Linked DNA regions of Homo sapiens: all the other regions are linked to region 3. Evidence: promoter capture Hi-C in 16 types of primary human blood cells and fetal thymus (Javierre and others, 2016). All regions are on one chromosome and are shown on one strand. The core of a region is centred on a gene start or on the middle of the fragment in contact, and the rest is flanking DNA. Distances in the headings are between cores, read along the strand shown.

Region 1 (2,949 bases), core at 47-2,546, 230 kb after region 3:
AAAACACAACAGTTCATCTGTGTGGCTTACATTCTTACTGAGTGTCTACTCTGTGTCAGGGACACAGTGTTAAGACATGCACCTTTACCTATTGCATGGAGTTTATATTTTCAGAGTTGAAAAAAATCATTTAAAAAAGAGATCCACTATTAGCAAAGAAAAGATGGGAATGTCTTCCCACAAAATTTCTAAGTCTTAGAGTGTGAACCTGCATAGACAGGAGGCTCCAGCAGAGTGGTTTACTTTACTCATTTCCCATACACCAGCTTTAGAAAACCATAATTCTTTTGGGAGGATGAGGCAAGCAGATCACTTAAGGTCAGGAGTTCGAGACCAGCTTGGCCAACATGGTGAAAACCTGTCTCTACTAAAAATACAAAAATTTGGCGGCACAGTGGCGGGCGCCTGTAATCCCAACTACTGGGGAGGCTGAGGCAGGAGAATTGCTCGAACCAGGGAGGCAGAGGTTGCAGTAAGCGGAGATCTACCACTGCACTCCAGCCTGGGTGACAGAGCAAGACTCCATCTCAAAAAAGAAAGAAAGAAAGAAGAAAGAAAGAAAGAAAGAAAGAAAGAAAGAAAGAAAGAAAGAAAGAAAGAAAGAAAGAAAGGAAGAAAGAAAGAGAGAGAGAGAGAAAGAGAGAGGGAGGGAGGGAGGGAGGGAGGAAGGAAGGAAGGAAGAAAGAAAGAAAGAGAAAGAAAGAAAGAAAGAAAGAAAGAAAGAAAGAAAGAAAGAAAGAAAGAAAGAAAGAAAGAAAAAGAAAGAAAGAAAGAAAGAAAACTGTAATTCTAACAGCGCTTGGAATCAAAGCCAGCCCTGGACAAGACTGGAAACTGGCCTGATTGGTGTTTGGTTGATTCTTAGCCCCTGATCCACGCCTCTCCCTTCCTCTCCCAACCTGTGCTTTGTTCCATTGCCTTCTGGCTTGACCAAGCCCCCTGCCTCTAATGGTTGAAGAAATTCCTCTTTCCATGGCATTTGGAGCTAAATCTGAGTTTCCTGAAGGCTGACAAGCCTCAAAGCAGAAAGCCTCTGCCACTGTGATTGCAGACTCCGCGACAGTGCAGTGGGAGGAAGGGTTTGAACTGTGCTCTTCGCTGAGGAACGGGCACTGCCTCCTCCCAAGACTCAAGACAGGGGACACAAGACAGAGGCACAGGTGCTCCAGGGACCTAACACAGGAGTGCTGTTTGCCAGCCTGCATGTGGGTGGGAAGGGGAAGCTGTCCCAGCCCCCTCCGAGTTTTACTGTAGGCTCAATTATAAATCCACCTCACACGACCTCATCCCCTCCCCAGGCTAACTGAACCAGAGCCCTTTCCTTCCCCCTTTGATGGAGATGACCAGCAAAGCCCTTGGCTTAAATGAGTTTCTCTGTTCCTCAGTGATCAGATTTGACTCTGATTTGATTTCAAATGCAGAGAACACAGATAAATCATTGTGCTGCGCTTAATAGAATTGAAGACCTTGTCTCCTGTCCACATTGTGACAGCAGAGAAGGTGGGGGCCAAGGACAGGGGAAGCAGAAACCAGTGAGGCAGAGCAAAGACTGCGTAAGTTCGTGTGGTCATCCCAGAAGGGAGAACAAGACGGTGTCCAGAGCTGCCTTTCTTCCTGCCTGCACTCGAAACCACAGCCCCACAGGGAAATCAATTCCTGCCTCCCCCAGAGACATTATAGAGCAGAGGCGATGATTTCAGTTTCCAGGCCTCCCAGAGCCACCAGCCTGAAGCTGTTCCCCAGCCTCCACTCCAGCACATCCCTGGCTTCCTTTGGCCTCAGCCTTTGGCTACCTGTCTCCCTCCTCTTTCTGTCCAGGTTCACTACCGAATCTCAGTATTTCCTGTCTCTCAGTTTCTTCTATCTCAACTGAGGACAGCCCATGTGACCCTGAATTAGTGCTCACTCAGACAGCCGTGGGGTCCTTAGTCATCTTTCTCTAAAATCTCAGTCTCCACCTCCTTCTAGCCCACTTCCATCCGTATTTTGGCCAAACTCCACAGCTAGGATAGGATTCCTTATGAGCTCAGTGACCTTCACTGAGGCCACTGCACCACCCAGGCTACTCTGGGGGTTGGCATGAAGGATGAGATGCAGGACTCTGTGGGTTTCATCTGTTTTCTTTTGCTGTGTCTTTTACCAAGATGTTGGTCAAGGTTCTTGGTTGCAAACTCTGGATAGCGGATTTGGTTTGGATACTTGTACCATTCAAGTGTCATGTTGGAATGGGATCTCCAGTGTTGAAGGTGGGGCCTAGTGGGAGATGTTTGGGTCATGGGGTTGGATCCCTCATGAGTGGCCTGGTGCCCTCCCCGAGGTAATGAGTGAGTTCTCACTCTGTTAGTTCCTGTGAGCTGGTTGTTTAAAAGACTCTGGCACCTCCTCCTCCCCTCTCCTTTGCTCCCTCTCTCGCCATGTGACACACCTGCTCCCCCTCCGCCTCCTGCCGTGAGGAAATGCTTCCTGAGCCTGCAGAACCAGGAGCCAAATAAACCTCTTTTCTTTATAAATTACCCAGCCTCAGGTATTCCCTTGTAGCAATGCAAAATGGACTAACACAAGAGTTTAAACTGAAAAGGAATTTACTTAAGGATGGTAAGTAGGAGAATCATGATGGTCCACAGAGCTAGCCTCTACTCTAGGCCTCCAGGAACAATGCTCGATCGCACCGTGGGGCAACTTCTGTCACAATTCTGGGGGTCAGTGACTTAGGCAAATGGCTCTTCTGGCCGCTGCTGGGTTCAGTTAGAAATCTGCCACTGACTGTTTACCAGGCAGCTTAGATGTCCTCTACACGTCTCTCTTAGCTCTTTGGAACATTTTCTTGCAACAGCAACAGGAAAGCTCACCTGCATGGCAAGGTCCCAGTGCCTGGAGTCCCACCATTGCCACCTGGCACAGCTGCACAACACGCCCTGTGCTCCCAGGAGATCCCCTGCCCTGATGCGC
Region 2 (2,986 bases), core at 454-2,953, 250 kb after region 3:
ACTTTTTAAATGAGATTCTGAGCTGGTAGGGGCCAGGGAGGAATATTTTTTAAGTCTCTCTAGATGATGATTTGAATGGGCAGCCAAGATTGAGAACTCATTAGTGGTTAGTGGTTTTCATGGTGTGCTCCTGGACCAGCGGACGTGTGGCATGAACATGTCACCATCCTGGAGCAGCAGAGCCCCCTGTGGATTCTATAAGTCATGGCCCAGAGTCACGGCTGGCAAGAGAAGCAGTGAGCAGTGGGCAGGAATGATTGGTTACCACATGCACACACCCCAGCAGAAGCCCAGAAATATTTGGGGAGGCGGTCTATGAAAGACCCACTTTTCTCAGTTGGATGGGAGCTTATGGGAAGTGAGAATTTTGTGTTAATTTTAATGGGAATCAATCTAAACTCTCCCAGCTGGTAAGCCTGAAATCTTTGATTATAATGATATAGAAATATAACTTTATTATAAAGTTTGCACCGTATTTGTCCTTTGTTCTCTGAGTGTCATGATCACATAACTGCAGGGTTGGCTCTCGTGAAGATTCTGTGCTGGCCATAACATCCACACTGGGCTGGTGCTGGCACGTACCCCTCAGGCCCAGCCACATGGGAATTGTTGTCCAGTGCTGTGTCACGCTTACCAGGAGGCCAAGCAGCTGCTGCTGCTACTGCATAATTATTTCCTCCTGTCTTTATCCCCAAAATTCTACTCTTTGGGCCTTAGGTTGCATTCTCATATATTCCCATTGAAGAGTATAGATTGGCATAATCCATGGGGGAGATTTGGCAATAGTTTTCAAAATTATAAAAAGTACAGATGCTTTGATCCAGCCATTCCTCTCCTAGGAACTTATCCTACAGATATACATATGCAGAAGTTTACTTGTAATTGCAAAGGATTGGAAACATCTCAAATGACCATCAACATGGGACTGCTTTAATTAATTATGAGACATCTTAAGTTGGAGTATGAAAGATTCAGGAAGTGTTTTTTATCATTGTGGTAAAAGGGGAGGCAAAAGAATATACATGTATATATACATATTATATATATGTTATTTTTTAGTGTCCCCAGAAGGAAATACAAGAAATGTGTAAGTTTGGTTTCCTCCCAAGAGAGAATTAGATGGCCAGGGGACAAGGGTGGAAGGTAGATTTTTCACAGTGTGCCTTTGTATACTTCTCATATTTTTAAACATACAGATGAGTTACTTATTCAAGTAAATAATTTTAGATTGCATATTAGCTCTGTTAATGATACAACAAGTAACACATCTTTAAGTTTACCAAACTTTCACAATACTTTTCCCTGCCTTCTTCTCTGGAAGGAAGAATTAAATATAGAAGCACTTGTATAGAGAGGAGAGTAGTTAATGGTTACCAGAGGCTATGAAGAGGTGGGGATTAAAGAGAGATTGGTTAATGGGTACAGAAATACAGGGGTGGGGATTAAACAGAGATTGGTTAATGGGCACAGAAATACAGTTAAATGGATCTAGAACTAGAAATACCATTTGACCCAGCCATCCCATTACTGGGTATATACCCAAAGGATTATAAATCATGCTGCTATGAAGACACATGCACACGTATGTTTATTGCGGCACTATTCACAATAGCAAAGACTTGGAACCAAGCCAAATGTCCAACAACAATAGACTGGATTAAGAAAATGTGGCACATATACACCATGGAATACTATGCAGCCATAAAAAATGAAGAGTTGATGTCCTTTGTAGGGACATGGATGAAACTGGAAACCATCATTCTCAGCAAACTATCACAAGGACAAAAAACCAAACACCGCATGTTCTCACTCATAGGTGGGAATTGAACAATGAGAACACATGGACACAGGAAGGGGAACATCACACTCTGGGGACTGTTGTGGGGTGCGGGGATGGGGGAGGGATAGCATTAGGAGATATACCTAATGCTAAGCGATGAGTTAATGGGTGCAGCACACCAACATGGCACATGTATACATATGTAACAAACCTGCACATTGTGCACGTGTACCCTAAAACTTAAAGTATAATAATAAAATTAAAACAAAAAAAGAAATACAGTTAAATAGAAGGAATAAAGTCTAGTGTTCTATAACACAGTAGGATGACTACAGTTAACCACAACTTACAGTATATTTCCAAGTAGCCAGAAGAAAAGATTCTACACGTTCCCAACACAAAGAAATGATACATGCTTGAGGTGATGGATATCCTAAATACTATGATTTGATCATTGCACAGTGTATGCATGTATCGAAACCCCATTGCTACTTACTGGTACATATTGCATGTACCCCAATTATTAGGCATCAGTAAAAACAGATAACAAATATTAAGAGAAAGGAATTTGAGACAAGAAGACAGCAGCATTGCTCCAAGTAAATGATGAACTTCTTTCCCGCTGGAAATGGATCAGTCCTCCTCCAATTCCCAAATTAAATATCAGCCTAGGTGTCCAAGAACCTCTCCCTGGCCCCAACACTGGATAGAGTCCCCTCCTGGACATCTTCCTAGCAGATGGGCTCCCCTCCATAGCTGCAGGCAGTCCCCTCACTGCCACACCAGCTGTCTTCCCAAAGATCAGGTTCAATGGACCTTAAATCTCAGTCTTGTTAATGCTGCCTGGACTGTAAATTGGCACAACCACTGAAGAGGGAAAATTGGCAATCTTTATTAAATATTACAATATTTTTATAAAGTATCAAAGTATAGATACCTTGATCCAACAGTTCTTAGACACATAACCTGACATGTGAGGATTAAAAAAATGAATGGAAATTATCCATTTCAACAGGAAATAAATTTCTAGATTATTCTGAGAGATGCTATTCTGGGAGCAAGCATCTTGACTGTGAAGCCTGTCTCAATCCCCAGAAGTCAGGGCTGCCTCTCACACCTACAGCCACTCAATCAATATTTATGCAAATAAATGACCTTACCAGGAACTCAGGCTTCTTTTGTAATGTAAAATGCACTTTTAGAAAA
Region 3 (3,113 bases), core at 397-2,896:
TTTCTCTACTAATTTCAGTGCTCATGGTTCTTCAAAAATAATTTCTGTCAACTCGTTTTCTTTCTTATAAGGGACTGTGTTTTCCTGTTTCTTTATATACCTTATTATTTTATTTGAGCATTTCAAAATATAGACATTTTTCTAACTCTATATAGATTTGTTCTGTGTCATGACGATTATCAACTAATATGCTTGGTATGTTCTTAGTCTTAGCATAAGCCCAACATAAAACCCTAAGGCCTTGTCAGCAATTTTCTGAACTTGTATCTGCCTGGACTGTGTGTGCCCATTAGTAGTTCCCCCAAATACCTACTGGCTTTTGAATAGCTTACTATTTCAAAAATTCACACCCCAGCTTCCCCTCAATGGGTTAGACGGACTATTGCACGTCTCTTCCCCTAATCTCTTGCCCTTGGCATCATACTACATTTCTACTCAGCACCCCCATAAATAAATAAGTTTATTTTAGTCAATTTCAGATCACTTCTTGACGCGTCCATGAGACAAGTAGGGGCCTTTTGATCCACCATATTGCTGAAATCACTCTGTAAAAGCTTTCAATGATTTTATATTATATTGTATCAATGTATAATAATTAACTTATTTCTCAACTTACTTTTTGGTTATTATTTGAGGAAAAGTAAATAGAACGAAATCAGGGCATTGCAAGTTCTGACAACTCCAAGATGTTGATAATGTATTGTGCAAACTACATTCATCATGTTCTAATCTGCCCTCCAAAGGAAGGAACAAGTGAAAACTATCCCACATGAGAATTATTCATCCATTTATATGTAATTAATTTCCAGTTTTTCCTTACAAATAATGTTTAACAAGATGACAGATTATATAAAATGGTTATCAGTTTTTTGGCTAGTTACTTCTTGATAGTCTGTAATAAACCTGGTTGAAGAACAAATACTATTAAGGCACTGCTTGCATATATTAAATGATGTCCAAACTCCAAAAACTGTTAATAATTAACACTCCAATAAAAACTACACCAGAATTTCTTTTTATTTGCACCCTCATCAGGATTACAGCTTTATCAGGACTGCATCTTCTTCAGAAATGAATATTTCTCTTACAACGCAAAGAAAGAAAAATCAAAATAAATTTTCTGATTGAAAATGTAAAAAGGCAAATATTTTTACAGTTTTAACTTTAATTTTTTATTGAGGACCAACTATTTGAAAAATTCTCATTAGTCATTCCTTTAAATTATGTGTATGTGAGAGAAAGACGTAAGATGGTTAATTATTTCAAATGATGCAGTATAAAGAAGGGGCATTATCACGGCAGAAACGAAAAAAGATATTTGTAGCTGGAGGTTTTTATAGTCTAACATATGGTTGCTATTTGTTCTACAAATCCTTTTGAATAATTTAATATAGAGATTTAGAATAGAAAATAATACTTTAGATAGAAATTAATGAGTTTATTATAACCATATATTATAATAATTTACTTAGGAATTCTCTTTGATAAGAAACAAATGAACTGAATGCAATTTTCTCCACAGACCATATAAGACTGCCTATGTACCTCCTCCTACATGCCATTGGTTAACCATCAGTCAGTTTGCAGGGGTGGGGGGAGGGGTTTCCTGCCCATTGTTTTTGTAATCTCTGAGGAGAAGCAGCAGCAAACATTTGCTAGTCAGACAAGTGACAGGGAATGGATTCCAAACACCAGTGTGTAAAGCTAAATGATGGCCACTTCATGCCTGTATTGGGATTTGGCACCTATGCACCTCCAGAGGTAAGAATAATTCCTTTTAGTTTTCGGATTTCAAAAGAATAAACCTAGTAGAAGTGAAACCCGTATTGGGTTGTAAGGTTCGTGTTCCTACCTTACTCTGGATGACTCACTGGTCTAGGTTTCCTAGGCTAGGAGAAAAAAGTAGGCAATCCTTGTTCTGCATTGAGGTCCATTCCTATGGTCACGTACTGCTTATTTTTCGTTTGTGCACTGTTTCTTTCTTCTGTTCATGTCTAGTTCCCAGCTTGGCAGAATATGTAAAACTCAGTATTGAAGAACACTGTTGGTCATCTCCCTCTGGTGGAGATTAATTGCAATAGGAGTGATTTCTCTGTTTCTACAACTGAAGAAATCTTTCCATCTTCCAAGAACATACGATCCAGAGAAATACTTATAGCAAAAATTACTGGATATGGTGTGCACAAAACTGTCGGCAGAGTATCACTGTTCTGATGGGCGGCAGTGAGTGCCACCCAGTATTACCGGACCTGGACTAGAGTTTCCACTGTACTATTTCACTTTTAAAAAGAACTTCCTGAAAGAAAAAAATACCACCTCATTTTAAGTAAAATCTAGAACCTAACAAAGGAAAGTCTAAATTCTTAGTCCTTTTTTGTATGCATCATATTTGTATCAAAGTGGTAGGAGTGGTCTTCTGACACAAAAATGAACAAAATGGAGACCTCATTTTCTAGATAGAACTTGTATTCCAAGACTGTCCTCAGGCTACTAAGTGTGTGAATAGGAACTAATTATTGAAATTTGAGTCTCTCACTTTATCGATAAGTTGTGATGATCTACAAGGATACATTTTCTAGACCAGTGACAAAAGTGGTTTAATTTTTAATATAAATTGGCATGGGCAGGAAATGAAAATAACGACACAACTGAAGCTCCAGCCTTGGTAAACCTTTGAGTGTTGGCACACTTAAAGACTGCTCTCAAAAAAGATTTAAAAAAAAAAAAAAAGACTGTTCTCAGGAGATGGCGGGGAGACCGTTATCTAGTTCCTTGTAATTTCAACGAAACAAGAAAGCTTCTTTAAATACATGTAAAAATGAAAACAGTTTATTTATATTTTTGTCATTAAAAAATACCTTTCAAATCTTTATCCAAATTTGGTCAATAAGTCAGTAATTTTAAATTTCACTGGAATTCTGTCTTTCCTGAAAGAGATAGCCTTATTTTTTATGGCAGAACTGTACCTTAGTAAATTCTTAACAGATTTCAGTGAATTTTTAATGTACAAATCGATATCCTCAGAGTATACATCTTTACCCCTAGTGTTCAGTTCTGTTGTGTAGCCAGAATGACTATGCAGAAAAGACTTAATAGACTACTATTCACAGATG
Region 4 (3,276 bases), core at 259-2,758, 210 kb after region 3:
TTTGTTGTTATTTCCTTCAGAATTTTTTTTAATTTTCTTTTTCTGTTTTATTTATACTTTTTACAAATCAAGAGCTGACTTTCAATAGATCACAGCGAGGGAGCTGCTCTGCCCTGTATAAAGCCCTGACCCAGAAGTAGGTTGTCTACAAATGATTTAGGTTCACCATGAACATGCACTGTGTGACAGGCCAGATTTTCGATTATTGTTAGAGAATTCTTAAACATCTGTGTCACAATCTCATGTTTATTTACAGAACTTTCTTTCGTATCTTCACCAGAATCTCCCTGAGAAGAAAGCAAGCCTCTCACTCAAGTTCTCGAGATAGATAATTTCTCTCTTCCTCAGTTAGAACTATAACAAACCGGCTCTCTTGGGCTGTTCTTGGGCTGTTTTTGGAAAACAATTTCCCCAGGGAGTCCAAATAGACTCTCCCTCTATTGTTCTGGCCATTTAATGTTTTTAACAGGGTCCCCCTTCTCTGCTAACATGAGTGATCAAGGCAAGAATAGCTTGGAAAGTGTTTAAGTTTGGGGTAACACTCCACCTGACTAACAGTTGTTTTCTTGTTACTGTTGGGGTTGTTTTTTATGTTTTTGTTTTTGTGTTTTGTTTTGTTTTGTTTTTTTTTGAGAGGGAGTCTCACTCTGTTGCCCAGGCTGGAGTGCAGTGGTACAATCTCGGCTGACTGCAAGCTCCGCCTCCCGGGTTGACGCCATTCTCCTGCCTCAGCCTCCCGAGTAGCTGGAACTACAGGCACCCGCCACCACGCCTGGCTAATTTTTTGTATTTTTAGTAGAGACGGGGTTTCACCATGTTAGCCAGGATGGTCTCGATCTCCTGACCTCGTGATCTGCCCGCCTCGGCCTCCCAAAGTGCTGGGATTACAGGCGTGAGCCACTGCACCCGGCCTGTTGCTGTTGGAGTTTTTTTGAGACAGGGTCTCAATCTGTTGCCCAGGCTGGAGTACAGTGGCATGATTATAGCTCACTGCAGCCCCAATCTCCTGGGCTCAAGCAATCCTCCCACCTCAGCCTCCTGAGTAGCTAGGAATACAGTCACGCACCACCATGCCTGGCTGATTTTTTTTTAATTTTTAGTAGAGATGAGGTCTCACGATGTTGCCCAGGCTGGCCTAAAACTCCTGAGCTCAAGTGATCCTTCTGCCTCAGCCTCCCAAAATGCTGGGATTAGAGGCATGAGCCACTATGCCTGGCCATGAATAATAGCTGTATCTCTTCAGGGTTCACAGAGTCATTAACTTTTGCATTTTGTGGGAATTTAACAAGTCCTGACAGGCATAGCAGTATGCAGGATTGTAAATTATCTGAAACAATCATAAGGTTTTGTAGATTACAGAAAATCTGACGATGTTAACCTATCATGATCTATAAAATACGCTAGCTTTTGATCACCCCGGAAGATATTTTATTTTATTCCTCATTCTATTGCTGTGCCAGTGGGTCAAAGTCTCCTTCATCCTTTGCTCCTGTCAGTCTGTGTGTGTCTTCTCCCTGCATTTTGGTAATGTTTTCTCTTCACCATTATCTTGATAGATGCCCACCTCCTCATCCTATTGCCAGTAAGTTAAATACAATCTTCTTTGCATCCATCCCACATCCAGGGCAACTGCACGAAAACAGGCAGTGAGGGAAGCAAATATGGCAAATATCAAAGCCATAACTCCTACTTACCTTGTCAATTGCTCTGAGTAACAGCGGTGTACTCCTCAGAGAAATCCTGCTCATCACTGGAAAGTGTCCTAACAAACCCTATTGGTTCAGAGCATTGTGTACCTACACCTGAGTCACTGAGAACAGGACGCTTTCTTACCAAATAAACCTATAAAGTTCAATTACACTCTTTCTGGTGCTACCAAATCCATTCACCTGAATTGTAATGGGTTCTGAGTATCATAGACAATTTCACTTAAGTTGAATGCACATTTATAGAACATTTTAAAGTGTACAAAGCACTCTCAAAAACATGAACTCATTCATTGAAAGCATGCTTTCTAGAATCCAAATCATAGCTCTTTTCTTTTAAAATCCCTGGTGTTGTCTCTACATGAGATTGCTTTTCTTATAGAAAGTTTTAGAGCAAGACAGCTAGTAAGCCTTGATGTCTGCTGCACTTGACCTTGCAGAAATCAATATTATTTTATAATATTGTCACAATTATGACCACAAATTCATCTCTATACAGAAGACCCTGAATATATGCCAAAGAAAAAATTTAATCCATAATTCAGATTGTTCTTATAGCTAGGACTTTGAAATTCTTCAGGTGGTAATAATTCCAGTAGAAATCCAAGATGTTACATCTTATGCATATAATGCCTAATCAGATCCAGTAAAGGCTACATCCTTTTGAGAACATGTTGGGCCAACAGAAACTTCAAAACTGAAATCCAGAAACTCAACTAAATTTGTCTTTAGTGTTTCAAAAGCTCATGGGCAGCTGTCATTTTATATTTGTGTGGTATTTGATGTCTTTCTTTCTCCTTTGATTTTTCTGGAATATAACAAATTTAGTAACCTAGCAATGACCACTTTCTATAAGCCATCTCTACCATCCAAACAAAATTGGGATATCTTTACTTCCTGGCCAATTCCAGATATTGGCTACATTCTAATAGAATTTACCCTCATTTCCTTCAATACCCTCATCATTTAAAGGAAATTCTCTAAAATGTGTCGGTTCAAACGTCTCATAGATCCTTCAGTTTTCTTGCCAAATCACGTATGACAGTTTACTGACCCCTGATTTGGTGAAAGGGTTTGTAGTCTTTTGGGTACTCTTGCTCCCATTAGTCATTTTCAGGAGTTGGTCTGGAAATGTCTGCTGTCCCTTCAGAGACAGAGCAATATTATCTGTGAGTTTAAAAGCCAAACTGTCTCTATAATAAACATGTCACATATTAATCAAGGAGCTTCCCAGTTTTTACTTTTTCATTTATTTTTTAGAGATGGGGTCTCACTGTGTTACCCAGGCTAGACTCAAACTCTAGGGCTTAAGTCATCCTTCTACCTCAGCCTCCCATATGGCTGGGACTATAGGGGTATACCACCATGCCTAGCTGCCCTATTTTTTTTTTTTTTGAGATGGAGTCTTGTTCTGTTGCCTAGGCTGGAATGCAGTGGTGCAATCTCGGCTCACTGAAACCTCTGCCTCCCGGGTTCAAGCGATTCTCCTGCCTCAGCCTTCTGAGTAGCTGGGAGCCCTGAGCCCTTGAGGTCAAGGCTGCAGTGAGCTGAGATCATGCTACTGCACTCT

Evidence for each region. Contacts are between HindIII fragments. The CHiCAGO score rates a contact against its expected background, and 5 or more counts as called.
Region 1: a contact is called between a fragment that was not itself captured here and the fragment with the promoter of AKR1C3 in region 3, in 5 of 17 cell types (M1 macrophages, monocytes, M0 macrophages and 2 more). The highest score is 8.5, in M1 macrophages.
Region 2: a contact is called between a fragment that was not itself captured here and the fragment with the promoter of AKR1C3 in region 3, in 9 of 17 cell types (M0 macrophages, M2 macrophages, non-activated CD4 T cells and 6 more). The highest score is 10.5, in M0 macrophages.
Region 4: a fragment that was not itself captured here is called in contact with the fragment with the promoter of AKR1C3 in region 3 in 7 of 17 cell types (M0 macrophages, monocytes, M1 macrophages and 4 more); the score reaches 11.0 in M0 macrophages.

Annotation. Positions count from the first base shown.
Region 1 is chr10:5,323,672-5,326,620 of GRCh38, forward strand. No RefSeq gene overlaps it. Among named protein-coding and RNA genes, the nearest start is that of UCN3, 40 kb to the right of the region's middle. The HindIII fragment of the contact is 4,550 bases long and covers 1-2,949 here.
Region 2 is chr10:5,343,582-5,346,567 of GRCh38, forward strand. No RefSeq gene overlaps it. Among named protein-coding and RNA genes, the nearest start is that of UCN3, 20 kb to the right of the region's middle. The HindIII fragment of the contact is 7,410 bases long and covers 1-2,986 here.
Region 3 is chr10:5,092,768-5,095,880 of GRCh38, forward strand. AKR1C3 (aldo-keto reductase family 1 member C3) reads left to right here and starts at 1,647. Exons shown (of 9, transcript NM_003739.6): 1 at 1,647-1,761. The coding sequence starts at 1,678. It overlaps LOC124900291 (U8 small nucleolar RNA), which reads right to left and starts at 776; the gene lies at 641-776. RefSeq lists an enhancer at 1,490-1,784. The HindIII fragment of the contact is 2,243 bases long and covers 553-2,795 here.
Region 4 is chr10:5,299,717-5,302,992 of GRCh38, forward strand. No RefSeq gene overlaps it. Among named protein-coding and RNA genes, the nearest start is that of LINC02561, 30 kb to the left of the region's middle. The HindIII fragment of the contact is 6,366 bases long and covers 1-3,276 here.